Linked DNA regions of Homo sapiens: region 2 is linked to region 1. The links are contacts of gene promoters, found by promoter capture Hi-C in human tissues and cell types (Jung and others, 2019). All regions are on one chromosome and are shown on one strand. The core of a region is centred on a gene start or on the middle of the fragment in contact, and the rest is flanking DNA. Distances in the headings are between cores, read along the strand shown. Region 1 holds the start of POMK (protein O-mannose kinase). Region 2 holds the start of LOC124900271 (small nucleolar RNA SNORD112).

Region 1 (7,740 bases), core at 3,319-5,818:
AAGACAAAAAAAAAAAAAAAAAAACAAAAACCCATCAGATAATCTTATAATACTTTTGTATTAAACCACCAAACATATTTTAAAGAACTCAAGAAAAGAAGGAGAGTGTATCGCATTTACCCAGTTATTTATATTCTCTGTTATTCTTTCATTTCTGTTATTCTGTCCAAAGAACTTTCTCTTTTTTTTGAGATGGAGTCTCACTCTGTCGCTTAGGCTGGAGTGCAGTGGCGTGATCTCAGATCACTGCAAACTTTGCCTCCCAGGTTCAAGCAACCTCAGTGCCTCAGCCTTGCCAGTAGCTGGGATTACAGGCACGTGCCACCACGCCCAGCTGATTTTTGTATTTTTAGTAGAGATGGGATTTCACCATATTGGCCAGGCTGGTCTCGAACTCCTGACCTCGGGTGATCTGCCCGCCTCAGCCTCCCAAAGTGCTGGGATTACAGGCTTGAGCCACCAAAGAACTCTTTTAGCAGTTCTGTTAGAGTAGGTCTGCAGGCTACAAATTCTCTTAGTTTTCCTTCATCTTAGTTTATTTCAAGGTTATTCCTGAAGGATGTTTTCACTGCATATGGAATTCTGGGCTTGCAATTCTTTTCTTTCAGCACTTGAAAAACGTTGTGCCACTTTGGTCTTCATGATCTCAGAGGATAAATTCACTGTCATTAGGATTGTGGGTCACCTACAGCTCGTGGCATTTCTCTTTGGCTGTTTTCAATTTTTTTTCCTTGTCTTTATTTTTCAGCAGTTTGATTTTGATGTGTCTGGGCATGGATGTCTTTGGATTTATTGCATTTGGGGTTTGCTCAGTTTTTTGAATCTGTAGGTTGGTGTTTCTTTCCCAAACTTGGGAAGTTTTCAGCCATTATTTCTTCAAAAGCTTTTTAGTGCTTTCTTTCTCATCTGCTTTGGGATTCTGATGGCATAAATATTAGACCTTTTGTTATGTCCCACAGGTGCTTGAAGTTTTATTAATTTTCCCCTCCTCTCTGTTGGTCAGTTTGGATAATTTCTATTAATCTGTCTTCATGTTCACTGACTCCTCTGTCATTTCCATTCTGCCATTGAATCTATCCAGTGAGTTTTAAAATTTGATTATTGTACTTTTCTATTTTAAATGTTTATTTGGTTCCTCTTACTTTCTCCAAGTTTTTTACTCATACTTTCTTTTTTAAAATTATTATTTTTTATTTGTTTGAGACAGAGTCTCGCTCGGTGGCCCAGGCTGGAGTACAATGGCACGATCTCGGCTCACTGCAACCTCCACCTCCCAGGTACAAGCGATTCTCCTGCCTCAGCCTCCTGAGTGCACCTGCCACCATGTCCGGCTAATTTTTGTATTTTTAATAGAGACAGGGTTTCACCATGTTAGCCAGGCTGGTCTCGAACTCCTGATCTCAAGTGATTCGCCTGCCTCAGCCTCTCAAAGTCTTGGGATTACAGGCGCGAGCCACTGTGCCCAGCCCCATACTTTCTATTTTAACTTTTGTTTCAAGAATGTTTATAATTTTTTGAGCATTTTCATAACTAATGTCTTTTTCAGATAATCCTAACAGTCATTTTATAGTTGGTGACTCTTGATTATCTTTTCCCATGCAAGTTGAGATTTTTGTGATGGTTCATATGCCTAGCAATTTTGTATCCTGAGCATTTTGAATATTATGAGGCTCTAATTCTTGTTTAAATCCTATGGAGAATGTTGGCATTTTAATTTTTTTTTTTTGAGAAGGAGTCTTGCTCTGTCACTCAGGCTAGAGTGCAGTGCTGTGATCTGGGCTCACTGAAACCTCTGCCTCCTGGGTTCAAGTGATTCTTGTGCCTCAACCTTCCGGGCAGTTGGGATTACAGGCATCCGCCACCATGCCCGGCTATTTTTTTTTTTTTTTTTTTTTTAAGTAGAGACCGGGTTCCACCATGTTTACCAGGCTGGTCTCAAACTCCTAACCTCAGGTGATCTGCCCTCCCTAAGTGCTGGGATTACAGGTGTGAGCTACCGCGCCTGGCCAACAGTTTAATTTAAGCAAGCACATGAACTAGTTAGGGACAGCCTGCAGGTTCCGATCTTCTTCTGGGGTTCATGTTCCAAAGTGAGTTCTGTGTTCATACCCTCTGTGGGGCTATTTGGATCTGTCTCGTGGCTGCATCCTCCCGTAGTTTGGTACCTGAACAAAAATCTGTTCATGAGCACAGTTCTCTGAGTGTTTGGTGTGCTCGTTAAGTCGATGATACGCAGGTCAGCGATGAGCCCAAGAGTTCAAAAACAACTCTGTGAGGTTGCTTGCCAGATGCTCTCACCTTCCGCTATCTTCTCAGTGTTTTTAGGTTCCCTCAGGTTTCAGTGCGCTGGTCTGAAACTTCCCACTTTCAGTTTGGCTTGGGGGAGCTGCCCACTTCCACAATTGTGCCACAGCAGTGGGAAACAGTTAAAAACAACAAAACACCAAGTTTGTGTCTGTCCTCTTGGAGCTGCAGTGCTACTGAATGGAAAGGACTATCTCTTTCCCTCAGACTTTTGGCTGCTGAAGCTTTTTGCTCTGGCCTTGGGCTTGACTGGGGGCTGGAGTGCAAAGAAAAGAAGAAAATAGAAAGAACAGGGAATTTTCTTCACTCCCTCTGAGGGTTAGGAGTTTCCTTTTCTGCTCCACGAGCCAGAATCAGAGGGTTTCTCCCGAGTCTCTGTGTGTGCCCCCGACACTCAGTTCCAGGCTTTGGACTACCTTCAGCTTGAAGATGGGTGACACAACCAGTTTGATGGTGCGTCAAATTCTGCTGTTCTTTTTATTTTTAATTTTTTGTTTGAATTTAATTCCTCTAATTTTTCATCAGTGTTAAAATTTCACCTTTTCCCAGCACCCCCAAAAAGCCTGTGGGCACAAAATGGTGGCCACGTGGCAAAGAACTCAGCAAGGAGAGCTGCTGGTTGGTTTCTATCTTTGTTTGTTTGAGACGGAGCTTTGCTCTTTTGCCCAGGCTAGAGTGAAGTTGTTGGGGAAACCAGCCCCACACCACCCGGCGGGTACCCCGAGTCCAGCGAAGACAAAGGAATTAGAATAAGAGTTTAAAAGGCGGGTCCGGGGGACCGGAGCGTTGGAGGCTTGCTCACGGCCCCGAGCTCTCGGCCTCCACCCAATTTATTGGTGTATATTCACACTGTTGTGCAACCATCACCCCCATCCATCTCCAGGACTTTACCATCTTCTCACACTGAAACTGTGCACCCGTTAGTATTTTTCATGGCTATGTGGATGTAATATAATTTCTTTCAGAAACCCCTATTGTTATACATTCAGGTTTCTTTTTTTCTCTATTATAAATATCTTTTATCAGCAATGCTTCAGCAAGATCTCTTGTGCATACATCTTGCAGACATATTATTTCTTTTTCTTTTTTTTTTTTTTTTTTTTTGAGACGGAGTCTCGCTCTGTCACCCAGGCTGGAGTACAGTGGCGCGATCTCGGCTCACTGCAAGCTCCGCCTCCCGGGTTCACGCCATTCTCACGCCCGCCACCATGCCCGGCTAATTTTTTGTATTTTTAGTAGAGACGGGGTTTCACCGTGTTATCCAGGATGGTCTCGGTCTCCTGACCTCGTGATCCGCCCACCTCGGCCTCCCAAAGTCCTGGGATTACAGGCATGAGCCACGGCGCCCGGCCACAGACGTTATTTCTGAAGGATAAATTCCTAGAAATGGATTTGCTAGGGCACGTAGGAGGAATTCCAATTTACACTCACTTGTATGTGTGAGGAAACTTTCAGACTCTACTGTAACGACAGGAGGTATTACCGCTGTTTGTCCATGTGATAGGCAAACGTTTCTGTTAATTTTAATACTGTTTGGATAGCTAGTACCGGCTCAGTTTTTTTAACCCACACCATGTTACTGTCTTGATTCTGGACTTTCGCAGTGTGTCAGTGTAGAAGCAGCTAACGCTTCCGATGTACACAACCTAGACGTTCCATGACCCAGCTGACTTCGATGCTGCAAGCCTCCCTTTCGGTTTCCCGGAGCAAGCGCCCGAGTGCGTGTTGGGCTCCCGGCAGGGCTCCTGGCCGGCCCTCGACGGACTTCCCCGCCTTTGCCCAGTCCTGCCCCTCCGCGGAGGCTTGCCAAGGTCTTGTCTGCTGCGCTTGATGTGTGCAGCTCAGCTTTACTGCGTCTAGGCTAAGCCCCACAGTTTCTTTTACAGAGCGATTGTCCAACTTCAGGCATCTGGGTCCCCGAGTGGCGGGTCTGGGCCGGAGCTGGGAATCAGCCTTTCCAGCAAGGTCCCTGCAGATGCCGCGGGTCTGAGGACTACGCTTTGGAAGGCCTCGCAGTGCGTCTAGATCTGACAGCTGCTCTGCATGAGCCTGGCTCCAGGCTGAAGCAATAGTCGGTCAACACAAAATCGTTCTCCCAAGTTAGGGAAGCAGAAGCCAGACAGGGAGACTGGGTAGGTGCGCGCTGGTACCGCCGCGGCGTTCGCTCCGGCTTCAGTGCACGGCCGGAGGAGGACGCCAGGGGGCAGCAGCGCCACGCTCACCCGCCCAGGACGCGCTTCCGAACGCGCAAGCGCAGTAGGCCCAGTGCGTGCTGGCCCGGGGTGGCAGGAGCCGCAGAGGCTTGGGCTGCAGGTAGGTGCTGCGGCGAGGGGTGAGAGGGCGAAGGGGCGAGGGGGCGTGCAGCTGGGTTTCCCGGGGGACCCTGTACGTGGCCTGGGCCGCACCCCCCGCAGCCCCGGCCGCCTGCCCGCGGCCTGTCCGGAGGCTCCCTAGGAGGCTGCGCTGGGCCTGAGCGGCCGTGTCCACCGCGCCCAGCCCCTATCTCCGCGTCCACCCCTGCGCGGTAGCGGGACGTTAAAGAACCAGAGAAGGGCCCGGCGAGGTGGCTCCAGCCTGTAATCCCAGCGCTTTGGGAGGCCGAGGCGGGAGGATCGCGTGAGCTCAGGCGAGAGCAGCCTGGGCAACATGGCGGAACTTCTGTCTCCGTAAAAAAGCACTTAGCCGGGCGCGGTGGCGCCGCCTATAGTCTTATCTACTCCGGAGGCTGAGGCGGGAGAATGCTTGAACCCGGCGGGGGCGGAGGTTTCAGTGAGCCGAAATCGCGCCACTGCACTTCAGCCTGGGGGCCAGAGTGAGAGGCTGTTTCTATTATTATTACTTTATCATTATTATTATTATTTGAGACGGAGTCTCGCTCTGTCGCCCAGGCTGGAGTGTAGTGGCGCGGTCTTGGCTCCTGGGATTACAGGCGTCCGCCACCACGCCCGGCTAATTTTTGTATTTTTAGTAGAAACGGGGTTTCCCCATGTTGGTCAGGCTGGTCTCGAACGCCTGACCTCAGGTGATCCGCCCGCCTCTGCCTCCCAAAGTGCTGGGATTACAGGCGTGAGCTACTGGGTCCGGCAGAGGCTGTCTCTGTTTAAAAAAACAAAAACCAAACCAAACCAAAACAAAACAAAAAACAAAAAAACCAGAAAGGACCGAGGACTCTGTCTCAGCTCTTTGCCTTTGGGTGTTTATTCTGCACGAGATCATTGTTGCCAGGAGGTGTTAAGTGTAATCATATTCTCTTTTTTTTAGAAAGCAAAATTTCGCTGTTTTGTTGCATAATCTTGTCTTTGCCACCCTTTGCCTTTGCTATAGAACCTTAAGGCTAAATAAGCGTTCAGAATATTTAAAATAATCCTCTTAATGTACCTTGTGCTTTATTGGCGCAATGGAATTCTACTCTAAACTGTATTGGATGACATTACTCTGTGTCTTCCCTAGTTGTAGAAAATATCTTGTAAGTCGGTAAAAACTAGTTTTGTCCCTTTGCTTTTCTTTTCTTTTTAAGCTGTAAATGTGGAGCAGTGGGTCCCAAGCCTTTCTCTATCAATAAGCCTTCCTATCAGTGTCAGAAATGCTTTGCATTTCAGTCGTGCCTGAATTTCTTCTGCCCAACCTGCCCCACCATCTTTATTCCTTAATGTGCAGGCTGTTTTCAGGACCAGTAAATTTCAGTGGTTTTTGCTTACTTCTGGACACGAAAGTTCCTTTAGCCACACAGCCTCATGCTATGCTCTGGGCGGCCTACTCCAGAATATGCCTGTGAAACAAAAAAGCAAATCGGGGTTGAGGTGGGCTGAAGTCTTCTTTAAGAAACCGGCAGTCCCAGGGTACCCCAGCCCAGCCCCTAGCTGACCACGCTGGGTTTGATTTAGTTCAACTCCCGAGCATTGCGGTATTTAGGGGAAGAATGGGCTTGAGGCCAGAAAACTTGGCTCTTCTGTGTATAGTTCAGTGACCTTAGATATATTACTTCACCTCTGACTCAGTTGTCTTATCTGTGAAATGGGAATAACAACAATTACATCCACTTCACAGAATTGGTGTGAAGTTGACAGTGTATAAAAGTCAAATGAATTTTGGGGTATTTTTTTTATTTGTTTTGTTTTGGTTTGGTTTGGTTTGTTTTTGCCGAGAGAGGATTCAGAAGTGAATGTGAGGACTTAGGGATATATAAAAGGTTTTTGGGGCATATGAAATTTGGATTCAGCAAGAAATGCATTAAAGGTTTTCTGAGTAATGCTGAGGGTCCAAGAGAGATTAGAAAATATGCATTTCTAGAGTCCCACAGAGTTTTGTAGCTGATGTTGGCAGCCTTTGAGTGGAAATGAAGAAGTGGACAGGGCAAGTTACATGGGTCTGGTGAATGACAAGCAGATCTGGGTTTATGATGAAGCCTCTAGCCTCTTCACTTGCACAAATACCTTCCAAAACCTTGCACAAATCCTCTTGCCAAAACTCTGGCAAGAGGCTCAGCACTTTTACATTCATAACTATTCTTCTCTTAAGGAATTACCACTCCTTGCCCCAACTTGTATAAGCTTCAGGCCCCATAAAACCTGAATCCACTAGTGGCAAGGAAGGATTGGTGGGAGGTTAGGGGTAAGGAGGGTTGGAGGGTTGAAAGGATTTATCGCAGGGTTTGAGCTGGGAAACTTGGATTGGAGAAGGAGGTGGCAGATGAGGGTCCTCAGAAGACAGGAGCCGTGAGGAGAGGAAGAGCGGATTCCGTGGAGCGAACACAGGAGAGGGAAAGCAGCCTGTGCGGCTGAGGCCATGAAGAGGGAGAGGTGCAGAGTGACCAGGCAGTTGGTGCGTCTTTGCCGAGTACCCGCTGTGTGCCAGGCACTGGGGTGCAGTGGTGAACAGGACAGGCAGGCAGGCTTCTTGGTGCTCAGAATCTAGAGGAAGCCGGGGCCTGGGTATCCCAGAAAGGGAGCCTTTGAGGAAAGCTCAGGGGCCAGAGAGTGTGGTGCAGGGAGGGTTTAGGGAAGCAGATAGGGGCTAGATTTCAGGAGGCCACATAAGAGTTTGGACTTGATCCTGTGGGCCGAGTGGGGGGCTGTTGAATGTTAAGCAAGGTGGGATCAGATCCGTGCTTTAGAAAGCTCTCCCTGCATGGGCCGGACATGGTGGCTCATGCCTGTAATCCCAGCACTTTGGGAAGCCAAGGTGGGCGGATCACGAGGTCAGGAGATTGAGACCATCTGGCCAACATAGTGAAACTCCGTCTCTATTAAAATACTAAAATTAGCTGGGCATGGTGGCACGTGCCTGTAATCCCAGCTCTGTAATCCCAGCTACTCAGGAGGCTGAGGCAGGAGAATCCCTTTAACAAGGGAGTCAGAGGTTGCAGTGAGCTGAGATTGTGCTATAGCACTCCAGCCTGGTGACAGAGTGAGACTCCTTCTCAAAAAAAGAAAAAAG
Region 2 (7,740 bases), core at 3,472-5,971, 1.1 Mb before region 1:
AGAATTTTAAATTCTAACCAATGATCCAAGTCACTCAGAGGTCATTTGTGTTGCAGACCTACTGAAAATTAGACTTACCTTTAAATGGACTTTTTTTCCCAAAACTCAAGGAGTACTTTTTCTTCCAGCATTAAGGTAGCTCAACATGTTCCCCTTCTAATATTTAGCCAACAACATAAGAAAACCTTGATTCCTCTAACTTGGGCCATAAGAAAGCAGTCTTTTCCCAAAAAGTTGTTTCAAAACTCTAACAAGAGTGTATAGCTATTTTCACACACTGAAATAGCAGATTTATATATTTGTGGTTTACGATACCACCAATATTCTCTAGACAAGGTTTATTCTATGGTTTCCATTAAGGAAGAGAATTCTAACTAAATTATTTTAGGCTCACTGCTCTCTAATACTATAAAGCAGTACTACAGCATAATGAAAAAAGCACAAAATTGAGAAGGGCCTGACCAATTCTTCCAGATGGTATTAACTGGCTGTGTGGCACTGGACAAGACACTTCAACCTCTTTGGCTCTCAAATTTCCCTATTATTTGTGAAATCAGATTAGAATCACTGTGATCCAAGATTGCTACTGGCTGAACATTCTACACAATGCAGAAGATACAAGTCTTTTTTTCTAATAATCTATGTTTCGTAAGCATAATACAATTCAACCATAAAAGATACCTCAATCAACACTACAGCCAGACTTACTTTTCCTTAGCAGTCTTTTTTTTTCTTTAAATTGCTGACAGTTAAAAACTATTTTGACCCAGAATGGCATACTACTATAATCTCTATGCTTAATTTCAACTCCTAATAAAATAGTGCCACACTACAAATGGTTTCTTCACCTGTTCCCTAATGAAGTTGAAAATAATTCCTTGGCCTTGAATTTACAGATACATGTACAGGGCTGATGAAAGCCATCTGCTGGGAACTATGACTTTCATATGAAAGGAAAAAACCAGAAGGAACTGCTTTCATTTTCCTGGGAACCAGCTGCAGCTGAATGAGTCCTAATCCTGCTCCAGCTGGGACAAGCAGAAGGGTGAAGTTACTCCTGGTCTAATTCATTCGCTGCAGATCCTTTGTGAAATGACTCCACCCCTGAGTAGCCAAGTGGTAAATAACTTTATCAGAGTGAAGCTCTTAATAATTCCTATACATAAATCAGAGCATGAAAAGTATTCATTATTATAATTTTAAGAAACACTCTCCAGGTCACCAGAAAAAAATAAATTTTTAATTCTATTTAAACCAGCAAACTCCGCACCTAGATTTAGTCCTCTTACATAGCTAAGAACCAAGTCAGTATGACAAAGATATTTTCTCCAAAACTTTAAATGCAAAGAGAAAATAAATCTAATAGATGTTAAGGAGATTCTTACAGCTTCAGGAAGACTGAATGATATAAATTTTCTTTCCAGATTCATCACAGTTCCTGTTATGTATTTGCTCTCCTAGTATTAAACATAACAAAAAAGTATTGGCCCACAAGTCCAGGATGAACTAAAGAAAAAACAGGCAGCAAGGGTAAAAAGAAATTTAATGTATTTTGCATTTCCTTATATTCATTTTCCATTTGGTTTTCTATAAGACATAATGAAAACTTGTATTATTATTATTAATTTTTGTTTTTTTTTGAGACGGAGTCTCACTCTGTCACCCAGGCTGGAGTGCAGTAGCGCAATCTCGGCTCACTGCAAGCTCCACCTCCCGGGTTCACGCCATTCTCCTGCCTTAGCCTCCCAAGTAGCTGGGACTACAGGCGCCCACCACAATGCCTGGCTAATATTTTTTTTTTTTCTTTTGTATTTTTTAGTGGAGACGGGCTTTCACCACGTTAGCCAGGATGGTCTCGATCTCCTGACCTCGAGATCCGCCTGCCTCGGCTTCCCAAAGTGCTGGGATTATAGGCGTGAGCCACCGCGCCCTGCCGAAAATTTGTATGATTAAATACTATTAAATACCTATTATATAAATATATTATGCCTATAAAATTTAATCATATAGAATTCTTTTGAGACTTCAATAAGAAAGTACATGTTAAAACACTTAAAAAAAAAAGTCCCTAACACATCATCAGCCCTTAACAAATGTTAGCTATTAATAGGTTTCTATAAGCAACTCTTTACGTTCCCTTAGCCTATTGATACAGAGCAAAGAAAAAACGAGGTTAAGACCATTAGAACCTCTGGATTTCTATTCCTGAAGCCATTTGTGGTACCCGATGTCTTCATTAATTCCTTCCCTTTATTTCACCAATTGGAAGGTAGACCAAGAAAGAGTAAAGTACTTATTCGCTAGAAAAATGTCTAGGTTGTAAGCATAAGAAAAATTGGTGGCTGGGCATGGTGGCTCACACCTGTAATCCCAGCACTTTGGGAGGCCAAGGCGGGTGGATCACCTGAGGTCAGGAGTTCGAGACCAGCCTGGCCAACGTGGCAAAACCCTGTCTCTACTAAAAATACAAAAAATTAGCCAGGCGTGGTGGCGGGTGCATGTAAACCCAGCTACTCGGGAGGCTGAGGCAGGAGAATCGCCTGAACCCAGGAGGCGGAGGCTGCAGTGAGCCGAGATCGCACCATTGCACTCCAGCCTAAGTGACAAGAGCAAGACTCTGTCTCAAAAAAAAAAAAAAAAAAAAAAAAAGAAAGAAAGAAAGAAAAGAAAAATTGGTTTGGTATAGAACTTTGGATTAGTAATGGCTAACCCAAGCTTTAGTAGCTCAGTAGCTTTATTTCGAGGTATGTCATGCACTGAAAATTACCAAAAATCATTGTGCTCATAGGTGAACCAGAAGATCAAAAAAATCTGCACAGTTGGCCAGGTACAGTGGCTCACACCTATAATCCCAGCACTTTGGGAAGCCAATCAGGAGTTTGAGATTCGTCTGGCCAACACAGTGAAGCCCCATCTTTACTAAAAATACAAAAATTAGCCAGGCATGGTGGCGCATGCCTGTAATCCCAGCTATTTGGGAGACTGAGGCAGGAGAATCACTTGAACCTGGGAGGCAGAGGTTGCAGTGAGCCAAGGTTGCGCCACTGCACTCCAGTCTGGGCAAGAGTGAGATTCCGTCTCAAAAAAAAAAAAAAAAAAAAACTGTGCAGCTGATTGTACTTAAACAGATACTATTTTACAAACATATCTCTGAGTTATTTTTAAATTTCTGAATTTTTGAAGAATAAATCTGCTAAGACAAAATTAATTCCTAACCAGATTTACAATTAATCCACCTCAATGACTTGTTAGTAACAAATTTTTATTTCTAGGCCACTGCTCCTGGTACATTTGGAGTCACAAACAAATGGTATAAACAATGATGTCAGAAATGTACGGCATGGGCCGGGCATGGTGGCTGACGCCTGTAATCCTAGCACTTTGGGAGGCGGAGGTGGGCGGATCACCTGAGGTCAGGAGTTCGAGAACACAACTGGCCAACATGGTGAAACCCCATTTCTATTAAAAATACAAAAATTAGGTAGGTATGGTGGCACACGCCTGTAATCGCAGACAGCAGGAGGGGAGAGGCAGTAGAATTGCTTCAACCTGGAAGGCGGAGGTTGCAGTGAGCTGAAACTGGGCCACCGCACTCCAGCCTAAGCAACAGAGCAAGACTCCATCTCAAAAAAAAAAAAGAAAAGAAATGCATGTCATAAAAAATGTTTAAATTATTAAATATAACAATTACTGAGATCAATCCATTTCACACTTGATAATAGCTACATTTTCCACGTCACTGTATCCTCAATATTTTATCTTTTGCCTTCAGAAGATTTTTTGTTTTTTTTGTTTTTCCAAAGTGAACAATCATTCTGTCAAGCAGTCCACATAGCCCTGAATTTAATAGCATGGACAACTATTTATTGCCTTTTTATACAGTATCAACGCAACAGAGTAATTGAAATTGAAATTTCCAAGCTTATATTGGTTAACAATTTTCTTATAAAATACCACCATTCTAACATATAAAATGTGCAACTATTCTACTATAAAGGTCATTTCCAAATAGCTAAATCAAAACTTCATCACTCTTAACTTTCAGTAACTTAAAAACATATCCCTGGCCGGGCACGGTGGCTCACGCCTATAATCCCAGCACTCTGGGAGGCCGAGGCAGGCGGATCATGAGGTCAGGAGTTCGAGACCAGCCTGGCCAACCTGGTGAAACCCCATCTCTACTAAAAATATAAAAATTAGCCGGGCATGGTGGCATGCGCCTATAATCCCAGCTTACTCGGGAGGCTGAGGCAGGAGAATCGCTTGAACCCAGGAGGTGGAGGTTGCACCACTGCACTCCAGCCTGGGCAACAAAGCAAGACTCCATCTCTCAAAAAAAAAAAAAAAATCCCCATTTTAATCAGTATCTCTACATCGAAAATTTAAATTCTAAATTCCTGTCAAAGCTCTACTTCCTCTATAATTTAAAATATAAATTCCAATAAAACAAAATAATTTGGACTCTACTAAGAGTTGACCAAATTGAGATGTAACTTAGAGTAGAAGGCAAGAGATTTATCATTGGATCTTTCTGCTCCAGGTTACCCAGCTGGGAGTAACCTGAACAATAACATTAGTTGACAATACCTACTCTTCCCTGTCCAACTGAACGCTTTAGCAAATTATAATTCTGTTCCAAAATACTATGCCACCAAATAACAATACTTTTAATGATCTGGCTGATTACCATGAAAGAGAATATTTTTCTGGGCTAGTAATACAGAACACAAACTATATATATTCAAGTAAATTATGTCAGTGTGTAAAAATGAACTCAGAAGTTTGAAATCAAGGTGAAAACTATTCTTGAAAGGAAATTGAATCTTTCCAAGACTCACTATATAAAGATAATTTTTTAAATGGACCATCACAGTCTCAAATAATTGCCTTGCCCACTAAACATATTATTATTTCTGAGTCATGATACTTAATTGTTATGAAAAAATAATAATGTAAAAAAATTACAGTTCATAAACTAAAAAAGGCTTTCAAAAAATTTATTTTGTATCTCTATTCTGTCTGCTTTAATCCCCTCACAGGACCTAAATCTTAAATCCACTGTTCATGGCAGGCATTCAAATGTTTGCTAAATAAATAATGAATAACTGAAGTAAATGGAACAAATTACCTTACAGTAATATCTATATTTCAAAAAGAAATTTACAAAGAGGAAGATGCTATTTAAGCCAGTTACACACTCTTCTCCTCACCTATAATCCCATGATTCAAGGAAAACAGTATTTCTGTCCCAAATTAAAGCACTCTGGTATAGCAATACAACTGATCCCTACCTTGCCTATCAGAAAATGTTAGTGACAACTGAAATGAAAATTAGTTAGCACAGAAATTATCTTTAAGGGAAAAAAATGGCATGTAGGTGAAACTTTTTTTTAATGGACCTCAGATATACAAAACTAGATTACTCCTAATCTTTGGTTCCTAACACATTCTTATCACTGGTCCAAAGTGAATTTTCAAATCTGTTCTGCAAAAAAAGAAAAATGGACACAATGAAGACGGGCGGGAATTTGTCCTTTAACAATTAGGAAATGTGCTATGAAGTTAACACCAAGGACATTCACGATTCTGTACTTGAGTGCAGTGATAGCCATCATACATTACTGCTCCTAAGAGGTGGTCAGTATGGCTATTACAAAGACTCTGGAGCCAGACTGCCCAAATTCAAATCCCAGCTCTGCCACCTAATATTTGTGTGACTTCAGCAAGTTACTGAAATCTCTTTTATGCCTCAGTTTCTTCACCTGTAAAATAACAGTAGCTATTTCACTGCTGGTACTGTTATGTTATTAATAACTAACTAACCTAACAGTAGCTAGTTATGTTAGAGGATTAAATGAGTTAATATATATACAGCATTAAAATAACGCCTGGCACATAGTAAATAAACACTTTAATAAATAAACTCACCATTAACTACCACACTCTAAAGTTAGCTCAAAAATTTCCCTTATAACATGGGTAAAAACTTTTTTTTTTTTTTTTTTTTGAGATGGAGTCTTGCTCTGTTGCCCAGGCTGGAGTGCAGTGGCACAATCTAGGCTCGCTACAACCTCCGCCTCCTGGGTTCAAGCGATTATCCTGCCTCAGCCTACCGAGTAGCTGGGATTACAGGCACCCACCATCATGCCGGGCTGATTTTTGTATTCTGTAGAGATGGGGTTTCACCATATTGGCCAGGCTGGTCCTGAACTCCTGACCTCAGGTGATCCACCCCCCCCTCGGCATCCCAAAGTGCTGGGATTACAGGCCTGAGCCACCAGGCCTGGCCTAAAAACTTTTAATCACAGTATCCCATGGATTCTCCTCAGTACTTATCAATGTGAAAAGAACACACTAAAGTTCCAATGTCTTCACAAAAACTCCTCTTAAACGTATTCCAACACAGTTGATCTCCCAAAAGGATCAAAACCACTCAGCTGCCGAAAATCTAACATACAGTTCCTTCCAAAGGTTAATATCACCAAAAAAAAACAAAAAGTTAGAATTGATACCAGAAAAAGTAAAGAGGAACTTGCTCGGGTTACTCCACGCAGTCTTTGAATTTCATCTTCACCTTACAGTTGGCCAGGTCAATAGAAATACCTGCATTAGCATCCCAGAGAAGACAGAACTGTTTCTGTTCCAAGCAGAGTGCCTGGCCCACAGTAGGTGCTCAATGACTATATGCTGAACCAATTAATTCCTAAAAGTGAAACTACTCCTGACCTATACACCTTCCTTTCTCCATCACTGTCAAATAAACTCTGGATAATTCTTTTCTTTTTTTGAGAACATCTAGGTTCGTAACAGCAAACTATCAATTCTGCATAGCAACTGACTGCGTAGTTCGAAGGAGAGGAAAGAAAATAGTTAAAATACAATAAAAGGAGCAGACATAATCTGTTCAAAGGAATAATCTCTCATCCTAGAGTTCACTGTATTACGATTTTTAATGTAAACTTTTCATATCTTTGGGGGAAGTCACACAGGAAATTCACTACTGAAAATAAGACTCCATTTAAAAATATAGAACAGAGCTCACCAACTCTAATTGAATAGATACTATCATGAAATTAGTTTTCCAATGAGATTAGTACATATACAAGTCTACCTGAAGAAACAAACTCTATTTTCCAACATGTCTAAATTTAGTTACTTCAGTTAACACTATAGGCAGGGTGGCTCATGCCTGTAATGCCAGCACTTTGGGAGGCCAAGGTGGGCGGATCACCTGAGGTTGGGAGTTCGAGATGAGCCTGACCAACAGGGAGAAACCCCGTCTCTACTAAAAATACAAAATTAGCCAGGCATGGTGGTCAGCATGCCTGTAATCCCAGCTACATGGGAGGCTGAGAAGGAAGAATTGCTTGAACCTGGGCAGCGGAGGCTGCAGTAAGCCAAGATCGTGCCACTGCACTCCAGCCTGGGCAACAAGAGCGAAATTCCATCTCAAAAAAAAAAAAAAAACAAAAAAACACTATATATGAAAGCTATGTAAGCAAATGGGCATTTCTTTTTCATTTTTTCAATTATTAAATCACTTTTGTTTTTCTTGCTTTATTTCTCCAAAATCAAATGTGGCCAGGTGCGGTGGATCATTCCTATAATCTTGGCACTTTGAGAGACCGAGGTGGGCAGGTCGCTTGAGGTCAGGAGTTGAGACCAGCCTAGCCAACATGGTGAAACCCTGTCTCTACTAAAAATACAAAAAAAAAAAAAAAAAAGTAGCCACACGTGGTG

Evidence for each region. The method cuts DNA at HindIII sites, captures the fragments that hold promoters and counts their contacts. A contact is called where the count stands out against the background at its distance.
Region 2: a fragment that was not itself captured here is called in contact with the fragment with the promoter of POMK in region 1 in 1 of the 25 tissues and cell types used here (hippocampus).

What each region holds. Positions count from the first base shown.
Region 1 is chr8:43,088,947-43,096,686 of GRCh38, forward strand. It overlaps POMK (protein O-mannose kinase), which reads left to right and starts at 4,569. Exons shown (of 5, transcript NM_032237.5): 1 at 4,569-4,617. RefSeq lists enhancers at 2,009-2,198, 3,533-4,439, 4,440-5,345 and a silencer at 4,597-4,806. The HindIII fragment of the contact is 5,704 bases long and covers 1,706-7,409 here.
Region 2 is chr8:42,038,112-42,045,851 of GRCh38, forward strand. The region is part of intron 2 of KAT6A (lysine acetyltransferase 6A); the gene reads right to left. LOC124900271 (small nucleolar RNA SNORD112) reads right to left here and starts at 5,464; the gene lies at 5,393-5,464. The HindIII fragment of the contact is 7,148 bases long and covers 1,148-7,740 here.